Regions from separate parts of the Homo sapiens genome. Here all the other regions are linked to region 1. Evidence: promoter capture Hi-C in 16 types of primary human blood cells and fetal thymus (Javierre and others, 2016). All regions are on one chromosome and are shown on one strand. The core of a region is centred on a gene start or on the middle of the fragment in contact, and the rest is flanking DNA. Distances in the headings are between cores, read along the strand shown. Region 1 holds the start of PRECSIT (p53 regulated carcinoma associated Stat3 activating long intergenic non-protein coding transcript). Region 2 overlaps COL4A2 (collagen type IV alpha 2 chain). Region 3 overlaps RAB20 (RAB20, member RAS oncogene family). Region 4 holds the start of LOC101060553 (a long non-coding RNA gene).

Region 1 (4,981 bases), core at 1,767-4,266:
ACATGTGCAACCAGAAACCAAGAGGAGATTCCCCATATTCCCACTTTTCAGAGGCATCTTACGGTCATTCCTCCTCTTTACCACCAGCCTGGTTTGCTTTTGTCTCTACTTCTTGATCTGTCGACCTCAGATATTACCTCTCAGCCTTGATGATCAAAGGTGAGGATCTGGCTCACTCGTGCTGGTGCTGCCGGAGGGAGGCAGCCATGGCATTGGGTTTTGCTTTTCCAGGAGGCACTTGTGGCAGCGAGTGCCCATGTGTTTCCCCAGCATCCCTCTCTGCTTCATGGCAGAAGATCCCAGTGTCTGTCCCTCCCTAGTTCCTGGAGCCCTGGAAGCCACAGGCCGGGAGGACTGGAGGTGCATGGTGGGGTGTGGCAGAGATGCAGGGCCGTGGATCTGATGACACTGCAGCTTTCAGACTTGTTTTACCAGAGAGAAACAACTTCCATTTCATTCCCTGTGGTTTGAGGATTTTCTGTGATGTGCACCCTAATTTAACCCCAAATAAAGTAATGTCATTACAACTGTGTCTGTTGTTTTGTCTTCCGCACTCACTCCATGAGGGCACGGTACCCTGACTCTCCTCCGTGCCTCCTCTCGGCCACCACCAGGTGCTCTTGCCACTGCCACACTCCCCTCACCTGGTACCGGGTGACAGGCCACCCTTTTCTACAGAGACAACTGAGTTCTGTGCTTTGTCCATAGTTTAGTCCCAAAAAAACCCTAAGCTACACGTGCATTACTACAACTGCATGAACACTGGTCTCCTACCAAAGTCTGCAGAGGTGGAGCCCACAGCCTCCCCAGACAGGTGGGAAGCTTTGCCTCCTTCCCTGCATGCCCCACCCAGCTCATGAGGAGCTAGTTGGAGATTCTGGGTACCGCTGTGCACACCCAATGCACCGTTTACACACTCAAGTATTTGGACCGCAAATGGTACTTGTGTCTTTACTCAAACTGTTGCTATTATGGATGTTGCGGGGCAGTGGTGGAGGTGTTTGGCCAAAGAGTGACCATCATCTCAGTCTGACAGAGACTGTCCTAGTGTTAGCATTAAAAGTCCCATGTCCATAAAAACCCCTCAGTAGGCTGGGCACGGTGGCTCATGCCTGTAATCCCAGCACTTTGGGAGCTGAGGCAAGTGGATCACTTGAGGTCAGGAGTTCGAGACCAGCCTGGCCAACATGGTGAAACCCCATCTCTACTAAATATTGAAAAATTAGCCAGCATGGTGGTGGGTTCCTGTAATCCCTGCCACTCAGGGAGGCTGAGACAGGAGAATTGCTTGAACCTGGAAAGTGGAGGTTGTAGTGAGCTAAAATCACGCCATTGCACTCTAGCCTGGGTAACAGAGAGAGACGCTCTGTCTCAAAACAAAGAAACAAAAACAAACAAACCTTCAGTCCCAAGCAAATTGGGACAGTTGGTGACCCTGGTGGAGCACATGCTGTAAGATTATTTCCTAAACTATGAGTGGATAAGAATTGTTCTGAGTCTGTCCCTGTTCAGAGTCCTCATTCTTTTTCCTTTTCCTGTCAAAGCTAGTTTGATTCCTAGCAGGATTCTAGGTTAAACAACGGTTTCTTCTCAGACCTCTGGAATAGGTCCCATTGGCAGGCCACCCACATTGTCCTGAAAGTGTTCCTGACTGTCCACACGCATTAGTCCACAGGACGGAGCCACACAGCCAGGACGGAGCCGCACATCTGTTCTCCTCCACCTTTGGTCAATTCTATGCCCACCTGGTTCTTGGAAATGAACCAGGATATGTAACAAAATCCATTTTTTTCTCCTTAGGATGAAATGATGTTGAAGGAAAGAATGTTATTTGAGGACCTGCTGTCTGTCCTTTTGTTTAAAGTTGCCATTTCCAAGAACCTAATGACGACCTTAAGTGAGGAATTAGTGTGCTCATAAAAAAGTTTTAGACGTTTTACGCTTACAGGAAAATGGTGAGGATAATGCAGAGAGTTCTCATGCAACAGAAATTTCTACTATTATTCATGTCTTACATGAGATGGGCACACCCTGTCCCCGTGTCCGAGGACTGGACAAGCCCACTCTAGCGGTGCACAGCTGGGGCGTGCCCCTCGGCAGTGGGGTGACCTGGCCCTCTCGCCCAGTGATGTCCTCATGCTTTGTGTCACGTGAACCACAAAATCTGAGTGAAAACGAAAGTCCATGAATGTCCAGGGCAGCTACCAGACGTGCGCAAGTAAGTCTCATGAAACAAAAGCTTCCCTGGATGGGGACAAAACACACTTCCTTCCGCTTGTCACCATCCCTGGCTCCTTCAACTCGGTCCGTCTCCATGACGTGTTCCTCTGCTTCTCTTCCTCCGAATAAAAAGGAAACATGCCTCGTAAGGACAGCAGTGCCGGGCTGGAGCCGCCTCTCCCCATCAGCACTAATGGCGTGGTACCTCTCTGCCCGCCCTTCTCTCTCCTCACCTGTGTTTTCCTTTCTTCCCGAACCTCCTCTTGGCTGAGGCCTCATGGGAAAAATAGGGGCACTCGCCCCATGGGCCCCAGGGAAATGCCAGTACCCCGGGCCGGAGAGTAGCCGAGCCCCAGACTGAGTCGTTGCTCCATGGGCCACAAAAGCTGGTTCCCGCACAGCAGCCGCCCTGGGCCCCGGCAGACACGACAGAATGGGTTTCCTTACACAAACCGCGCTTGGCAGATGTTGCCTGAAAGACAGGAACTCCGAAATTCCAACAGAACGGCCAGCGGGTGGCTCTCTGCTCTGGCAGGCTGCAGGCTCTCAGGGACGCCATGTCTCCGGAAGGTCAGCGTCAAATGCTGGTGAGAACTCACTCACTCCTCACCTCCGTGACAGGCACGTGTGTTGGCTCCACCAGGGTGCAGAAGCCACACGAGCTGCTTTAACAGAAGACATTCATGTAAAGCACAGCTCTCGGGCCGTGGGGCTGTTAACCAGGAGGGTGCACAGTGCATGCACCGCCCAGGTTCCGGTCAGTTTTGCTCCCACAGTCATCACCCTGGAGGGCGTTTCATGTTGTTGCTGTGAGAATTTGCCGTTGCTTGAGTGAGTCATGCTGACGTGGCCCCTACTCCAGGGTTTCCAGTCTTTCTGCTCCTAGACTGACTCAGCGCTGGTCATTAGGTGCTGTCCATCAAGGGGAACTTGCCCTGGGCATGGAAAATGCTGACCAGCTCCCTGTTTTGGAAAATGACCTCATCCCCAGGCTGCCCACAGGAGGCGGAGCATGCCAATGCCGTTCCTTACTGGTGTGTATATTACTGTTTTTGTCCTTTTCATGCAGCCTGCGGAGTGTACCTCTATAGCTGTCATTTCACTCCTGTGTTTTCTCGGCCTTGGGCGAGGATCCCATGCTGCTGGTAATGAAAGCTGCCTGTTCCCTCGGTTGTTTTCACAGTCCCTCCTTTCTCTTCCAGAGAGAGGTTTTGTTTTGTTTTGTTTTGTTTGAGACAGGATCTCACTCTGTCACCTAGGCTGGAGTGCAGTGGCATGATCTTGGCTCCCTGCAACCCTGCCTCCCAGGCTCCCATCCTCCCTGCAACCCATCGTCCCACCTGTGAAGGGAAAATAAATCTTGGGCCCCCAAACTCAAGCCAAAGGGAAAAGTCAAGCTGGGAACTGGGTCATGCAAACCTGCCTCCCCTTTTGGTCCCTAAATAAGATGCTGCAAGATGAAAAACTGCACACCTCCCCTATATTTTGTCCACAAGGAAATTCCTAGTGAGCTCCGCAATCTTTACTGTAAGGTGTTTCTGTTAAGATTTCACCACAGCAATGCAAATCGATAGCTCATCTTTACAGGTGCAGTCAACCCCTGCCCGCCAGACACAAATGCAAACCTGATTGTTCCCCTGCCCCCTTTGTCTAAGTCATCTTGTGTAAAAATAATGCAGATTCAATGAGCCAAACGCATGACTATTTTTCTCTACCCGCCTCTTAGATGAAAATTGTGTACTTGTCATTATCTCACCCTTTCCCCTTTAAATTTGGAGCCCTCAAAATCATCTTCGGAGAAAGGTACAGACTGTCTCCCGAGTGTTCGTCCTTAACTTTGGCGAGTAAACCTCCTAAAATGATTGAGACTTGTCTTGTCATTTTTCTCAATTGATACACCTCAGTCTCCCAAGTAGCTGGGACTACAGGCATGCGCCACCAAGCCCAGCTAATTTTTGTATTTTTTGTAGAGACAGGGTCTCACGTTGTTGCCCAGGCTGGTCTTGAACCCCTGAGCTCAAACAACCTGCCCGCCCCGGCCTCCCAAAGTGCTGGGATTACAGGCGTGAGCCACTACGCCTAGCCAAGAGAATTTTAAAACCATTGAGGAAATAGTGCCATTGTTGTGAATCAGAGACTTGATGTGCTATTTCATGTAGTGGTTCCTGTCGTTTTGCTTGCAAAATTGGCTTCAATTATCTTGAATTATATGAACTGTCAGAAAAGCCCTGCGGCAGATGATGGTAACGAAAAGACATCCTTTAGCAGACAGGGAATAGGACTGATTCACTGATGCATCTGAGTTGCAATTTTTTTAGCTGCTTCTAAAAATCTTGTAATTAAATTCACTGGTGAGAGCACAGTAGCCTTCATAAATGGGAAAACAGAAACATCGAAGTTGTTCTCAAACCATCCTGGAATCTTAAAGTTCAGGGGGCACCTGGCAGAGGGGAGCCACAGAAAGACGGCAGGGAAGGGAGGGTTAAGGCGAGGCCGGGATAAGCCAAGCAGGGCTGTTCTGGTTTATCTTTCTTACTTTGTTCTTAAGAAAACTTGCTGAATGTAGTTGGCTTCAGATCTTCCTGTTTTAAAAAAAACGCAGTAAGATGAAAAACCTGATGTGTCCTCTGCCCTTCCCCGTCCCTCCCGCCTCTCCCTGCGGGGGGTGAGCACTCCTCAGAGTGCCTGGTGGAGAGGCCCCTGCCCTCCCCTGCACGGAGCTGGGGTGGCCTTAGGCCAACAACCATCAAAGAACTCAGGC
Region 2 (4,981 bases), core at 676-3,175, 420 kb before region 1:
CTTTTGCATTTTTTAAAAATGTTGCTGACTGAGAACCCAACTCTCACCAACCCCTCCCTTCTCACCGTACTATATTCCTGGAATTCACACTGCAAAGGCGGGTGCTTTCAAAATTCACTTTTTCCCACAAGCGGATTCAGAAATGCGGAGGTTGCCTGCCGCCTTTTCTACCGGACAACATTCCCGAGTTATTGGTGAGCTGGAATGTGACTGACTTGCATTCCAGGGTTTCTTAAAGTCAAAGGTTGACTAACCAGCAGATTCCCTCAGGGAAAAGAGGCAGTAAATGTATCTTTTTCAAGGTAACATTGCATGAACTTGTCAAAAGACAAAAAGGATAGAGGGGTTTGTATTAAAAGAAATGATTCCAAGGTACCTAGAAATAAAAGTAATCTTGCTATTCTTCCAAACAAGTGAGAAGGTCTGTGGCTTTCAATTTTGTGTCTTTTTATGGAATCAACAATGGCTAACAGGAGTGTAGGTCACACTGTGTGCCAGGCGATGCTCCAAGTTGTCCTAGTTGTACTTTTCAGTGTGTTTACCCCTCTGGGTGACCCTGTGAGGTGGAGATGGACTTGGCTGCTTTTACTGAGGGAGAGATGGAAGCGCAGGGCGTTGAGTTCCTTGCCCAGGGTTGCCTTTAAGTGGAGGAGCCAGGTTCAGGCCCAGGGCCTCTGGCTGCGGAGCGCAGCCCCCTGCACACTCGGCACGAAGCTGCCCGAGCAGGAGACGCCATACACGGAAGTCAGGCCTTCTGTCCCTTGCACGTGGGACTTCAGTGTGACGCCCAGCAAAGCCCTCTCCTTATTTTAAGGAACTTCGTAAGACGACATGCAGAGTGAAAGCTTTCCTAGAAATTCCTAATGCCTACATGATAAAAAGTCCTATTTTCTTCTCATTCTTCTCATCTTTCCCAATTATAGTCTAGAAAAAAGTGTGTTCTACAGTAAAGCGTTGCTATTTACACAGCAAAGGAACATAGCCATGCCACTTTGTCTTTGTTTGTTCAGGGGTGAAAGTTTTTAAAAGCCAAATTTTGTTATGCATCCAGCAGACAGGGATGAGAAGAGCCTAATAGGGTTAAAGCTGGGGCTGAGGGGCAGAGTGGGGTGCAGGGAAGTGAGGCCTCCTCGCTCCCAGGCCACCAGCAGAATTGGCAACCACATTAGTTCCTTCTTTATTCGAGCTTTGGACTCACCTACTTCCTCACCCGGTTTTCACTAATCCTGTTCCCCTGCTGGAGAATGAGCCCCTTAAAAAGAGAGACCACCCCATGTATTAATCATCTTAACTCCTCATCAGGCCGCATACAGCATATGGAGCATTTGGTAAATATGTAGTCAATGAAAAAGTGAACGCCAGCTGCGATCCGTAGACCACGGTCTTGTTCTTACTGTGGGACTTGTTTCCCTTCCAGGTGCCAGAGGTGACCCGGGATTCCCAGGGGCCCAAGGGGAGCCAGGAAGCCAGGGTGAGCCAGGAGACCCGGGCCTCCCAGGTCCCCCTGGCCTCTCCATCGGAGATGGAGGTAATGTGGCTTCATAATATCAACACCGGAGACCCAAAGCACCTGCACTCAGGTCCTAGCACACACAAGGGAGACTTCGTTGACGACGTAGCTATGTCGTTGTTACTTTTCCCCACTGACTAGTCTTAGCAGCTCTAAGGAGCCCCGCACACATGCTTTGGACACCTTCACAGAACCCTCGCACATATGACAGTAACTCCCCAACTAGGTTAGATGGTGCCACGATGGGTAACTGGCATGCTTCCACCTGTGGGTTGGGAAGAGAACGGAGAATCATCAGGTGTTGTTGCCCAGTGTTGATCACAACTATCAAGCCATTATTTGAGGGGCAAGGAGAGGGGTGTTTTTAATGTTGAAAAAGGATAATGAACTATACCAATGGCTTCTACCCATCGGAGTTATTGACGGGGCCATGAAGCCCGCTAGTGCCCCAGTGGGCCCCTCTGGACACGAACACAAAGGCAGCGGTGTGGTATGGGAGACTCACGCTGCAGGTGAATGCTGTTTGGTTTCAGATCAGAGGAGAGGCCTGCCGGGTGAGATGGGACCCAAGGGCTTCATCGGAGACCCCGGCATCCCTGCGCTCTACGGGGGCCCACCTGGACCTGATGGAAAGCGAGGGCCTCCAGGACCCCCCGGGCTCCCTGGACCACCTGGACCTGATGGTGAGTGGAGGGAAACAAAAGGGAGGGTGTAGCCTAATGTTCAGATGAAGCCCGGTCCCAGCCGGATGTTATTTGGGATTCTCTGCTAAATGACTCTGGGAACGAATCCAGTAGGCCAGTGATTAGGGTGCAGTGGATCCAGGTAGATTAGGGTGTAGTGGGTGCTCTCTGGGGTCCACGCAGGAGCTGGGGATGGAAGCTGAAGCCCTGTAAGCCTGTGAGTATCACAGCCCCGTGGATGCCACACAGTGAGGTTTAGTTGCTGCAGCTTCGGTGAAATCCATCCTTCAGCGAAACATCTGAGCTGCGCAGTCTGGAAACAGATGTGAGCTGACATTGCTGCCTCTGTGTCGGGGTGATACATTCCACAAACCTAATCCAGGGTGAGGGCTCACCCTTGACTGGCAGCCTCTCTCCTGTGTTACTCCATCACGTTTAAGCCACCTTGATAATCTGCCTTCTCAGCCCGTGCACAGCCAAAGCTACAACTGAACAGGTGAGAGTAGCTGGTGACAAAAAGAGATGGCTGCATTATCTGCAAAAATAAGTGACAGCCGTCCCCCAAGGCCCAGACAAATGCCCATGAAAGTCAATAAAGCCGGCAGGCACAGGAGTGTGGACCCACCTGCCACCCAGTAGTGCATCCCTGAGTCAGCAAAGATGCTCTTTCAGGTTATAACGTTAGGTGACTCAACTTGAGTTGAGAATGACCTGTCTCAGGCAGCAGGGAAACATGCAGTCCCGCCTGGAGCTTGCTGTCAGAAAAGGCTGTTCTTTCAGCTTCAGCATTCAGAGAGTTATGCTTTAAAGACCAAGCTTGTCCAACCCACGGGCCACATGCGGCCCAGGACGGCTTCAAATACAGCCCAACAAAATTCATAAGCTTTTTAAAAACATTTTTACAATTTTTTGTAGCTAATCAGCTGTATTAGTTCGTTCTCACGCTGCTATAAGAACATACCCAAGACTGGGTAACTTATTAAAGGAAAGAGGTTTAATTGACTCACAGTTCTGCAGGGCTTGGGAGGCCTCGGGAAATTTACAATCATGGCAGAAGGGGAAGCAAACATGTCCTTCTTCGTGGCATCAGGAAGGAGAAGTAAGGAGTGAAGAGGGGAAAAGCCCCTTATAAAACTATCAGATCTCATGAGAAACTCACTCACTATCGTGAGAACAGCATGGTGGAAACTGCCTCCATGATTCCATTACCTCCTGTGAACCAGGTCCCCACCATGACATCTGGGGATTATGGGAACTACAACTCAAGATGAGATTTCAGTGGGGACACAAAACCTAACCGTATCACCAGCTAACATTAGTGTTAGTGTATTTTATGTGTGGCCCAAGACAATTCTTCTTCCAATGTGGCCCAGAGAAGGCAAAAAATTGGACACTCCTGCTTTCGATGTTGTGAAATGCCTAATAGGAATATTTCATTCTCTCACAAGAGTGAATATAGGAGACATTGGGAGAAAATAAGAGGTCATAGTCTCTTTCTGTGTGACGTTGACCAAAAGTTAACAGCCTCTTCTTTCCAAAGTAGTTTACTTTAAATTCCCTGACATTGCCCCTAATAATCTCTTACAGCCTCCTACCTTCGGGGAGGAAAAACACCATGTTTGCTAGTGGACAGTGTTTGGTTTCAGTAACAGGTCAAAGTCTCTGTTTTGTTTGTTTGTTTGTTTGTTTGTTTGTTTTGAGACGGAGTCTCGCCTGTCACCCAGGCTGGAGTGCAGTGGCATGACCTCGGCTCACTGCACGCTCCGCCTCCCGGGTTCGTTCCATTCTCCTGCCTCAGCCTCCCGAGTAGCTGGGACCCAGGCGCCCGCCACCGCGCAGCTGGGACCACAGGCGCCCGCCCTCACGCCCGGCTAATTTTTTGTATTTTTAATAGAGACGGGGTTTCACCATGTTATCCAGGATGGTCTCGATCTCCTGACCTCATGATCCGCCCGCCTCGGTCTCCCAAAGTGCTGGGATTACAGGCATGAGCCAACGCGCCCGGCCCAAAGTCTCTGTTTTAATTGTTTGTTTTTGGAAGATTACTTCTCTTTGACATATCTAGAAGGAAAATCATTAGAGTTATTAGAGGCAATGTCTTCTATTTAAAAGGTAGTAGTCACTTCTCTGTGTCTGTTTTATATTATAAAGTAAAATTTTAACTTAATATGCTTTCTACTTTCTCAATTTTTCTTCAATTAGAAAACCCACATATTCTCACATTATTCTGAAAATTTTTAGGTGCAGATATTTCCCTGGATCATGAACCTGCCAAAGAGTCTGAGCAGTGTGAACTTTATTTTTTTATTTTATTTTATTTTATTTTGAGACAGGGTCTCGCTCTGTATCCCAGGCTGGAGTGCAGTGGTATGATCTCTGCTCACTGCAACCTCCACCTCGTGGGATCAAGCGATCTTCCCACCTCAGCCTCTTGAGCAGCTGGGATTACAGGCATGCACCACCACCATGCCTGGCTAATTTTGTAATTTTGGTAGAGACGGGGGTTTCACTATGTTGCCCAGGCTGGTCTTGAACTCCTGAGCTCAGGTGATCTGCCCACCTCGGCCTCCCAGAGTGCTGGGATTACAGGTATGAATCACCACACCTGGCCTTTAATTTTTTTCATTATCCTGGACTGCTGTGATAAGAGCTAGGTTTCTATGAGCATTATATTTCCTAAGCAAATGGTATCTTTTGAGTTTTCTTTTTCTGGAGCAGAACATGACATGTTAAAAACAAAAGCATACAAATATTCCACTTTAACGGCCAGGCATGGTGGCTCACACCT
Region 3 (4,981 bases), core at 1,005-3,504, 320 kb before region 1:
AAGTCAATGTCCAACCAGAGCCATTCCAATCCATAATTCTGAAAGTGATTCCTTCACATAGCAGAGAAACCCCATGAGATAGGCACCAAAAAAAAAGCCTCAGCCATTTAATCCTTATCACCCTTTACAAAAGCTAAGGGAACCTATGATGTGCCAGGAGAAAGAAGATGACATTGCATTACTGAGAGTCGAGAACCATGCTGGGCTCCCTGCACATCTGTCATCTTATTTAAGCTTCATAACTGTCCCTGGAAATAAGGTTTATTACTACAGTTTTAAGAAGACATCACTGAGACTCAGAGACAGGATCATATCTTCATTTTGTTTTCTAAAAGTGTTCCAATTGATTCATCTAAAAAGAAAACCTGCTGATCCCAAATACAGCTGTGAGGGAAAGGTACAACCCTAAATTCACCTATTTGGGCAACATAAGTCATTTCAAGTTATGCCATGAGATGGTAGCGTCCCGAAAGGCAGTTCCAACCCACAAGGAAGCACAGTCACACATGAGTCTTCCATTTCTAAGTAGAAATGCCTCATTTTTTATTGATGCACTCAGCGGCTCTGCAGGCCACCCTTGGTCTGTGTGACAGGGCCACTAAGCGTGTGTCATGGCATGGTGCTGGGTGACACCCAGGCTCACAAATCTTAACTGACCTGGAGCATCTGTGAACAGTACAAGCTGAACTTCTGTTTTTTTTTGTTTTTTGGGTTTTTTGTTTGTTTGTTTGTTTGTTTGTTTGTTTTTGAGACAGGGTCTCACTCTGTTGCCCAGGCTGGAGTGCAGTGGTGCAGTCACAGCTCACTGCAGCTTCAAACTCCCAGACTCAAGTGATCCTCCCACCTCAGCCTCCCCAGTAGCTGAACCTACAGGTGTGCACCACCATGCCTGGCAATTTTTTTTCAATTCTTAGTAGAGACAGGGTCTCGCTATGTTGCCTTGGCTGGTACCTATCTTCTGACTTCAAGGGATCCTCCCGTCTGAGTCTCCCGAAGTGCTGGGATTACAGGCGTGAGTCACCACGCCTGGCCAAGCTGAACTTCTGTACCACAAACAATAGAAAGTGTTCCTCCTTCTCAAGGACTCATATGTCAGAAGCCTGGAATGCCGCCAGTCAAGGCCAGGAAGCTGACTGTTGCGCCAAATCACAGCGGTCTACACGGCGCCTCCTCTAACCAGACTGTCCTGAACTAGAGCAGCCAAGGTCAGGGAAGGGAACGGACCCCTGCCCCAAACACACTGAATCAGCTGGCTCTGCATAAATGAGAAAGCGCAGCTCAGACACGAGGCGCAACAAGCTTCCTATGTGAATGAAGTGCGCTTAATTCTACACGGGGAAAGCGTTAACAGGAATCTTAACACATTGATCTCGTTAGTGATGAGACAGGCCACAGGTTGAAACTGTTTTTCATTTACTATCGTTGGGTGCAGCAGGACTTTTCTAGTTCACAGGCACCCCATGCACGAAATAGAACGTAGCCCGATGTACATTTATTACCTTGTGTGAGTGAATGCATACTTGGAGCAATTCCTTTCCAGTTCCACTCTCACTTTAGGATCCAAGTCACTTCTACGAAGGACACAGCAGGCTGGTGAGATTAAGTGCATAAATCCTCGGACAGGTCTGCCCAGATCAGATCCCCACTCCACCACTCCTGGAAAATAACCTTGCTACCTGCTACGGTGCCAGAGAGGATTAAAGGAGCTAAAATGGGGAAGCGTTTTGCAGAGCCTCTGGCACATATTAAGTGTTGTGGAAGCATCGGCTATAATTTAAGGCCAAAGCTATAAGGCCAAAGTCTGTAGACTGGAACCTCAGTCTTGGGAAGCCTGCATGACCCCACAAGCTAATGCTAATCAGCCTACACAACAGTATTGCAAATAGGCCGTCCCATTTATTCTTTGTATCTAAACACTTACTTTAAAATATAGGTAAGCATTTCAGATATAACCTGGAGCAAAAAGTTTCCCATAGCAGGTATTCTATAACTGTGAAGCTACCACCAGAGCAACTCCTTATGCCGTCAAGGCTCTTAGTAATAAAATTGAGAATTTCCAAAATACAAATAGGAAACCTGGTCAACAGACTACAAAAATAAAAGACACTGTTATCCTCAAGGCAACTTCAGTTAGAATGCTACATCTTTTTGATCCAACAATTTTTCTTTTATGGATTAGAAAACACCATAATTCGGCCGGGCACGGTGGCTCACACCTGTCATTCCAGCACTTTGGGAGGCCCAGGTGGGCAGATCACTTGAGGTCATGAGTTCGAGACCAGCCTGGCCAACATGGTGAAACCCCAATTCTACAAAAAATACAAAAATTAGCCAGGTGTGGTGGTGTGCACCTGTAGTCCCAGCTTCTCGGGAGGCTGAGGCAGGAGAATTGCTTGAAGCTGGGAGGTGGAGGTTGCAGTGAGCCGAGATCACACCACTGTACTCCAGCCTGGGCAAGAGAATGAAACTGTCTCAAAAACAAAAATAAAAACAAAAAAAAACTCTTGTCATTCTGGAAATGTCCACAATTCAGTCTCACCTGCCTCCATCCTCATGAAGGCACCAGGGGAGCGCGGTGGGCTCACCTGATTTCTTGGTTAGGTCTGTTCTGTTCCTTTTTTATGCGGGGTCTGTCGGTGGGCACTGCTCCAATGTGAGGGGTCCAGGCTCCATCGTAGCCTCTTAACCAGCTCAGTGCCAGGAAGGGTGGACTTTGACAAAAACCCACCTCAAATCTGCACTCCCCAACCTGGAGTGCAACCTGTGGCAAGCTCCCTAGGCTCTCTGGGCCTCAGCTTCCTCATCTGCACCGAGAGGTGAGGATAACACCAAGCACACAAAGTGGATGCCGGAACAATGGACAATGCCAGAAGGCACTGAGTGTGATGTCTGGCACCCAGAAGCATGATAAATGCCTGCTGCTCTCACAGCCCAGGGCTCCAGCCAGGTAAGGGCTGGGTCCCTACAGAACCCAGAGGCCTGAACATGTGTGTGATGATTCCAAACTTCCCAGGCCAGTTTTTCATAGGACACTACCCTGACTTCCTTGCAGAACCCTAGCAGTAGGTAGCTGAGCTATTTCAGAGGCTTAAGACCAGTGTGCGGAGAGCGGTTAGGCCAGAGGGAGGAAAGACATCCGTTGCCATCAACATCTTGTGAGTCCACAAAACAAATCAGCAAATATTTACAAAATGCTTTGCTTGGAGCTACAAGCTTAGCTTGGTCTGTGTTAGAATATAAGCTACTAAAAGTTAAGTGTGTTGATTTGTATCAGCTTGGGTTAAGCAGGAAGGAATATTTCAGACAAAAGCTGAATTCTTGAATGCAGATTCATTTTGCCTGTGCCCTTTGGCATTTCCGAATTTCTAGCTTCTTCAGCCCTGAATCTGGAATCCAGGGAACTCACCACTGTGTCTTTTCATCCACGGTTCCTAGCTCATGATTCTTACAGCCATTGTTACAATCTATTGTTATAATGTTGGGTGCCTTAGGCCTCAGGAACAAAATCTTTCTCTCTGACCTTCTCCTGTCCTCCTTTCACCTGGCCCAGGCCGGACTCTAATCTGATTGTGGGTCATTAGACCCTCCTTCCAGAGAGGGTCCTGCCCCATACCCTAGAGGAAGGAATGCTGCAGAGAGGCCTGGGGAATCTGAACAGACAGGCCTTGCTGGGCTTAGACTGCACCCTTTTTATCCAATCACACTTTTTTAAATTTTTTTTTTTTTTAATTGAGATGGAGTCTTGCTCTGTTGCCCGGGCTGGAGTGCAGTGGCACAATCTCAGCTCACTGCAACCTCTGCCGCCTCCTGGGTTCGAACGACCCTCTTGCCTTAGCTTCCTGAGTAGCTGGGACTACAGGCACGCGCCACCAAGCGCAGCTAATTTTTGTATTTTTAGTAGAGACAGAGTCTCGCCATGTTGGCCGGGCTGGTCTTGAACTTCTGCCCTCAAGTGATCTACCCTCCTCGGCCTCCCACACTGCTGGGATGACAGGCCTGAGCCACCACACCCGGCCTTTCCAATCACATTTTGACATGATGCCCATGCCTCAACCACAGACAACCAATGAAGTCTCCATAAGAAGCCCAGAAAACAGGGTTCAGGGAGCTCCCAGAAAGCCGAGCACATGGAGGCCAACAGGAAGGTGAAGAAGAACTCACCCCCATGCCACAAGGGCACCCCAACTCTGTGGCACCCCAACTCCATGGACCCCAACTCTGTGGCACCCCAATTCCGTGGCACCCCTTCCAGACCTTGCTCCATGTGTCTCTTCATGCGGTTGTTCATTTGTATCCTTTGCAATATCCTGTCTAATAACTAGTAAACAAACATAAGCAACCGTTTCCCAGCAAATTAATTGAACCCAAAGAGGGGGTCGTGGGAACCCCCACCTGAAGCCGGTGGATCAGAAATTCCAGATGCCTGGAATTGCAACTAGGGGGAAGGAAGGGGTGGTCTTGTGAGACTGAGCCCTCACCCTGTGGTATGAGACGCTACCTCCGGGTAGATAGTGGCAGAATTAAACTGGAGGACACCCAGCTGGTATCCACTGCTCGCTGTGTGGGAAAAACCCTACACCTTTGCTCACAGGAGTTTCCTGTGTCAATGATGGCTGTGGCGCTGTGAGAGCAGAGGAAAAACTCGGGTTTAGAGTTTTTTCCTGAAACACATTCCCGAGGTATCTAGTGGATCTGCCTTCTCCTTGCCACCTTCCAGAGTCTTATGTTTGCTTTTAAGATAAAATCCAAGGTTTTGGGCTGTAATTAGAGGGAAGAGTAGGGGAAAATACATCTTTTCCAACTTCCCAGAAACACAGTCCTGGTATGTTAGTCTTTTTAATAGATTTGCAATGATATTGAACTCAAAAGAAATCAAGAGCTACTAAAGAAGTTTTTTAGGATACCATATAATTAATGTCCCAGACCCACAGTTCCCTACCACGCACACAATGGCCTATTGTATCACAGCACTCAGGACAAT
Region 4 (4,981 bases), core at 1,583-4,082, 280 kb after region 1:
GAACTCATGGCCAACAGCACTATAACTCATGCCCGAACAAAGCTTATCTAACACATGTATTTTCTCTGTTAAGACACATCACAGCCTTCTTGCGCTTAGGGACATTAGACAGCATTTCAGCACTACGTTTGGGGGCCATTTGAAACAGAAATCACCATCGGAAAGCATAGAAATTTGAAAAATGTGACACTAAGTAGAGTGAGAAGAGGACATATGTTTACAGAATGAGAACTAAAAAAAAAAGGCAGAGCATGGCCTTATTCAAGCACAGCTGGGAACGTGTACATAAGGTGATCCAAATTTTTCACTGTTCTGCTTGTGTCCATATATGACTGAGAGTGCTTCAAGTATTGATTTTTGGGTTACACATAATTTTTAGCCAAGTAGCTGAGTTCATAAATACAGACTCTTTGAATGATGATTGACTGTATTTGTAGAGGTTACTTGCCAAAAAAGAGTGTGTTTCAAGCATAAAAATAGACTATATGAGGATACAACTTTTTGGGTGAAGTGGAATGAATTAAAGGAGAAAGAATTAATGTCTGACTTGTTCAGAAACTTTTTAGATGGAGAAATGGGTATTATGTTTCTATTACACTTAGATTCTATTGGATATATTTTTTATAAAGGATGCAATGGTTTAATTTAAAAATGTCATCAGAATGTCAGAAATTACATCCTTTACAACTATTTAAAACTATGAAGAAAAAAATTAGGTATTACCTAGATATGTGATAATTTTTGAAAATTATTTTAAAGAGCAAAACGGATTAGGAAGCAGCTTTGCTTTTGCCATTCCACTGAAAAAATGTACAGTTTCGATGGAAACATGTCAGCACTTGCTTGAAGGAATTTTTCAACTATAGAAAGAAAAAAGCTTCATTTCATCCCTTTTGGCATTGCTGAACACTTGGTTTTGATGTATAATTTTAAAACACCTGAGCACCATAAAATGAAACCACAGTATTCCTGAGTAGCCTGGTGAAATGTCGTGATTTTCTCCTACAGTACAGAAGGACAAAAATGCCTTTAATGTCCTCAAATGCTAGAGTTCTAGATGACGCATTAGTTTAAATGTCAACGCTTAATGTCTTCACATGTAATTTGGAACATAAGTTTTCTTACAGTTAAAATAATCCTTAGAGCAAAAAACAAAATAAAGTTTTTCGTATGCCTCAGGCTTCTTAAAATTTTCTAGTAATTGGTACTGTTTCTGGTTTCCTTAGTTTCTTGCCGTGGGTAAGGTCCAAACACCTTACATGTGTTGCTGGTGGCCCTCACAATTCTACCTTGGACTAAAGCACTAGGGAGTCTGTAGGCGCCTTCCTGCGCTCCTCCACTGCGGTGGATCCACAATTTCTTCTCAGCTGACTTACTGGTTTTCATGTTAACTATTTCGGTTAATCATTCATGAAGCGCGTGGCTTATATTTGGGAAAACATTGCACCTTAATCCCAACATGCATAATTTATGTTGCTTAATTATTTTAAGTCATTGCATTAGAATAGTAACTGCGCTCTCCATGAGCCTAGGCTAGAAAGAAGGGAAAAAATCCCAGGTTCTCTCCCAACGATCAGGGGTTACTCAAGCCGCCCGAGTTCTCTGGGGCCCCTCTGGGCCAGGCTGCGTCCACTTGGGAGAGGCCGAGGACCTGGCGCCAAGAGGCGGCGGTGTCTGCGCTAGGGGCCGAGCGGGTGCGCTGTGTCTGCGGGGCCAGGCCAAGGACCTGGAGCAGGGAGGAGGCCGAGCGCGGAGCCGGGCCTTGTCGGCTGCGTCCGCGGGGCTAGGGTAGAGACCGAAGACTGGACAGGAGGAGGCGGCGGTGGCCGCGCGCGGGGCCAACCGGTGGGCTCCCTCTACCGGACCGAGGCCCAGCACTGGGCCAGAGGAGGTGGCAGCTCGCCGGCAAAGCAGGGTGGGCTGCGTCCGCGGGGGCGAACACCCGACGCTATCCGAAGACGTCCCGCGCGGGCCGGCGGGGGCGCGGTCTGAGGACGTCACTTCCGGCGCCGGGGCTCACTTCCTGGTGCGGGAAGGGGCAGAGATTGGTGCAGCCCCGGAGGAAGAAAAAAGGGTGAGGAGAAGCAGCGGCTGAGCGGGTTGGCATCTGGGGCAGCGGGCTCGCTCCAGGCCGTCGGGGGCCGCTCGCCAGCGTCGCCCGCTGTGTTGGGAGCGCGGGCCGTGGGCGTCGCTCGGCCTTGTCCGCGGCGTCCCCGCTGCCGGCCACGGCGCTCAGCGCTTGTGCTCTGTATTGCAGGTCTACCCCGAGCCCCGGAGCGAGAGCGAGTGCCTGAGCAACATCCGCGAGTTCCTGCGCGGCTGCGGGGCTTCCCTGCGGCTGGAGGTGAGCGCGGGCGGCCACGGGCCGAGGGAGGGGCCGGGAAGACGGGGTTGGGCCCGGGGTGGGTGCTTCGCTCCAGCCGGACCTCCTGCCTCCTCCGCGCCCGGATCCGACCCTCCCCGGCTGCTCGAGAGTCCGGGATGTGTGGAACGGGGCGTTGCGGGTTTGGGTAATGGCCGGGAGGTGGCGGCGCGCGGGCCACCCCCAGGGCAGGGTGGAGTCTGCGTGTGGAACCCCAGACATTGCTCTCGTTCCAGTGAGGAAGAGTGGTTCTGGTCGCTGGTGGTGCAGGTGACACACATTTTCAACAACCGTTTATCAGGGGTGTGAACCGATTTCTTGGCACCTGCCTCAGCATGAACTCTGCTTTTAGAGATTGTCATCTAAGGGCTGGCATCTAGGTCTGGGTCAGGCCTTAGAATCCTCAGCAGGTGATCAGGCAAAGTCGTGCAGAAATAAAATGGGCCAGCCCTCCGCCTGCTTCTCCCAGCCGCACTCCTTTCTCTGCTTTTTCTTCCTGAGACCAGAAATTCGGTGGTTTTTCCGTACCCTCAACACTTAATGTCCAGAGAATTCACATTAACCAGTATGTGACGTTTATAAAACATGCTGTCGGGGAACATACTGGGCGGGGTCTCGATTCCCTGTTGTAAAATGTTGTGTCACTTTACTAAACATTGTCTTTTCAGTCTTTCAGTGGCAGTTTCTGGGAATTTAACTCTTTCATTTTATTTTGCTATTGCGATTCTTCCTACACTTGGGGTAGCACTTTAAATACAGAAATCTAGCTTTGCTTTTCTTGGGATCTGCTTAAGTGGTTGCAGTCAGTCCTGTACTTAAGTCCTGCCGTTTATGTTGCCACTTTGTCACTCTTAACCTTAGTTTTCTTATCTGTAAACTGAGATGGGCAATATCAAGCTCCCAGATAAGAGTACAGTCGGCCCTCCGTATCCAAGGTTACCCACCCGTGTATTCAGCCAACCTTGGATTGGAAATACTGGAGGAGGGGGAAACCAATTAAAAAAAAACAATAAAAAACAACACAGTATAATGATTATTTACATATCATTTATAATGTACTAGGTAGTGTATGAAACCTAGAGATGATTTAATGTTTACGGGACTATGCCATTTTATATAAAAGACTTGAGCATCTGAGGGTTTTGGTATCCACCGGGATCCTGGAACCAATTCCCTGCTGATAAAAAGGGACAACTGTATATGAAAGCATCTTTGTAGAACCTGTTATGTAGGATAACCCAACAGAGGTTTCCCTTCCCGAAGAATATTTTGCTATAGGTTTCTCGGAAAACCTAGAACATCAAATCTGTGAGGGCAGGTTACATGGAAAGTTTATTTAATTGAATTAGACATGTAGGAATTCATAGATTAAAGTATTACTGGCGTTGTTTATGATTGTAAACACAAAGAAATTTATTGTTGGTAGTATTTCATGTTGGCAAGGAAATTATTACACGTAAGTGAAAGTGCTAGGGGAGATTCCAAGAAACTTAGGGCCTTTTCAAAGGGGAAAAAGACAGTGTTTCAGTAGTCTTTCCCTGATACCCTTTGTCGTATCAGCTTTGTCATTTGTAATCCAGCTGCCTTATTGGCTGTGATAATATGCCTTGCTAGTGGCAGGTTTTACTTTTTCTTCACCTTTGTGAGGGATTTTATTATATTATCCTCTTGAAACTACTGAGTTTTGTTTACGTTAACATACTTTTGAAACTCAATTGGCACATTAAGATTATCTGACTTTAGTGTAAAACTTTTTAAAAAAGTTTTGTTTTAAAGTAAATTGAGGCTGGGTGTGGTGGCTCACGCCTGTAATCCCAGCACTTTGGGAGGCCGAGGCGGGTGGATCACATGAGGTCGGGAGTTCGAGACCAGCCTGGCCAACATGGTGAAACCCTGTCTATACTTAAACAAACCCAAAAACAAAAATTAGCCCGGCGTGGTGGCGTGCACCTGTAGTTCCAGTTACTCAGGTGGCTGAGACAGGAGAATCCCTTGAACCCCGGAGGCAGAGGTTGCAGTGAGCTGAGATTGCCACTGCACTCCAGCCTGGGTGACAGAGCAAGACTCCCTCAAAAAAAAAAAAAAAAAAAAAAGTAAATTGAATGTTAAAAACTTACCGTTTTTAGTTTTCCAAAGGTTGCTGACATTTCATACAGTAACTATTGTTTTTATAATTAAGAGTTTATTTGAAGGTTTTCTGGAAGAGAGTTTTCACTAACATATTCCAAGCATCTACAATAGTGCTTGGCACATAATAGGCTTTCAATAAATATTTGTTACTAATAGAATGAACTTGAGGTTGTAAGTGATAGCAAGTGAGTTTCATTTTAAAGTAAAAAATTAGTTTTGACTTATTTTGTGCTATTTTTAAAGAGTAAATATCTCTTCCAGTAAATTTAAGCAAGAGGCAAATGTTAGCATTCTTCAAGCTTAGTGTGAGTCACACTTGTAATTACCTAGGAGATAATAAAAATGAAAATATGAAAACAGCACATGAAAAACCTGATAAATTGTTCAGTCATTGTGTTTTTTGGGAAGTTACCCTGAGAAGTCATTTTGTATGCTATGCATCCAGCTCTGGCTTCCAGCCTTGTAAGGTGATGTGAAGGGACAGGGCTG

The links. Contacts are between HindIII fragments. The CHiCAGO score rates a contact against its expected background, and 5 or more counts as called.
Region 2: a fragment that was not itself captured here is called in contact with the fragment with the promoter of PRECSIT in region 1 in 1 of 17 cell types (naive B cells); the score reaches 8.6 in naive B cells.
Region 3: a contact is called between a fragment that was not itself captured here and the fragment with the promoter of PRECSIT in region 1, in 1 of 17 cell types (endothelial precursors). The highest score is 5.3, in endothelial precursors.
Region 4: a contact is called between a fragment that was not itself captured here and the fragment with the promoter of PRECSIT in region 1, in 1 of 17 cell types (endothelial precursors). The highest score is 5.6, in endothelial precursors.

Annotation. Positions count from the first base shown.
Region 1 is chr13:110,867,292-110,872,272 of GRCh38, forward strand. PRECSIT (p53 regulated carcinoma associated Stat3 activating long intergenic non-protein coding transcript) reads right to left here and starts at 3,017. Exons shown (of 1, transcript NR_027701.1): 1 at 1-3,017. RefSeq lists enhancers at 2,074-2,760, 2,118-3,317. The HindIII fragment of the contact is 3,703 bases long and covers 2,238-4,981 here.
Region 2 is chr13:110,448,262-110,453,242 of GRCh38, forward strand. COL4A2 (collagen type IV alpha 2 chain) reads left to right here. Exons shown (of 48, transcript NM_001846.4): 19 at 1,418-1,528; 20 at 2,044-2,193. Among named protein-coding and RNA genes, the nearest start is that of COL4A2-AS2, 13 kb to the right of the region's middle. RefSeq lists an enhancer at 1-893. The HindIII fragment of the contact is 2,164 bases long and covers 844-3,007 here.
Region 3 is chr13:110,546,008-110,550,988 of GRCh38, forward strand. The region is part of intron 1 of RAB20 (RAB20, member RAS oncogene family); the gene reads right to left. Among named protein-coding and RNA genes, the nearest start is that of RAB20, 13 kb to the right of the region's middle. The HindIII fragment of the contact is 1,914 bases long and covers 1,298-3,211 here.
Region 4 is chr13:111,151,648-111,156,628 of GRCh38, forward strand. It overlaps ARHGEF7 (Rho guanine nucleotide exchange factor 7), which reads left to right. Exons shown (of 22, transcript NM_001354046.2): 2 at 2,258-2,344. It overlaps LOC101060553 (a long non-coding RNA gene), which reads right to left and starts at 1,930. Exons shown (of 2, transcript NR_120398.1): 1 at 1-1,930. RefSeq lists a silencer at 2,061-2,420. The HindIII fragment of the contact is 3,914 bases long and covers 876-4,789 here.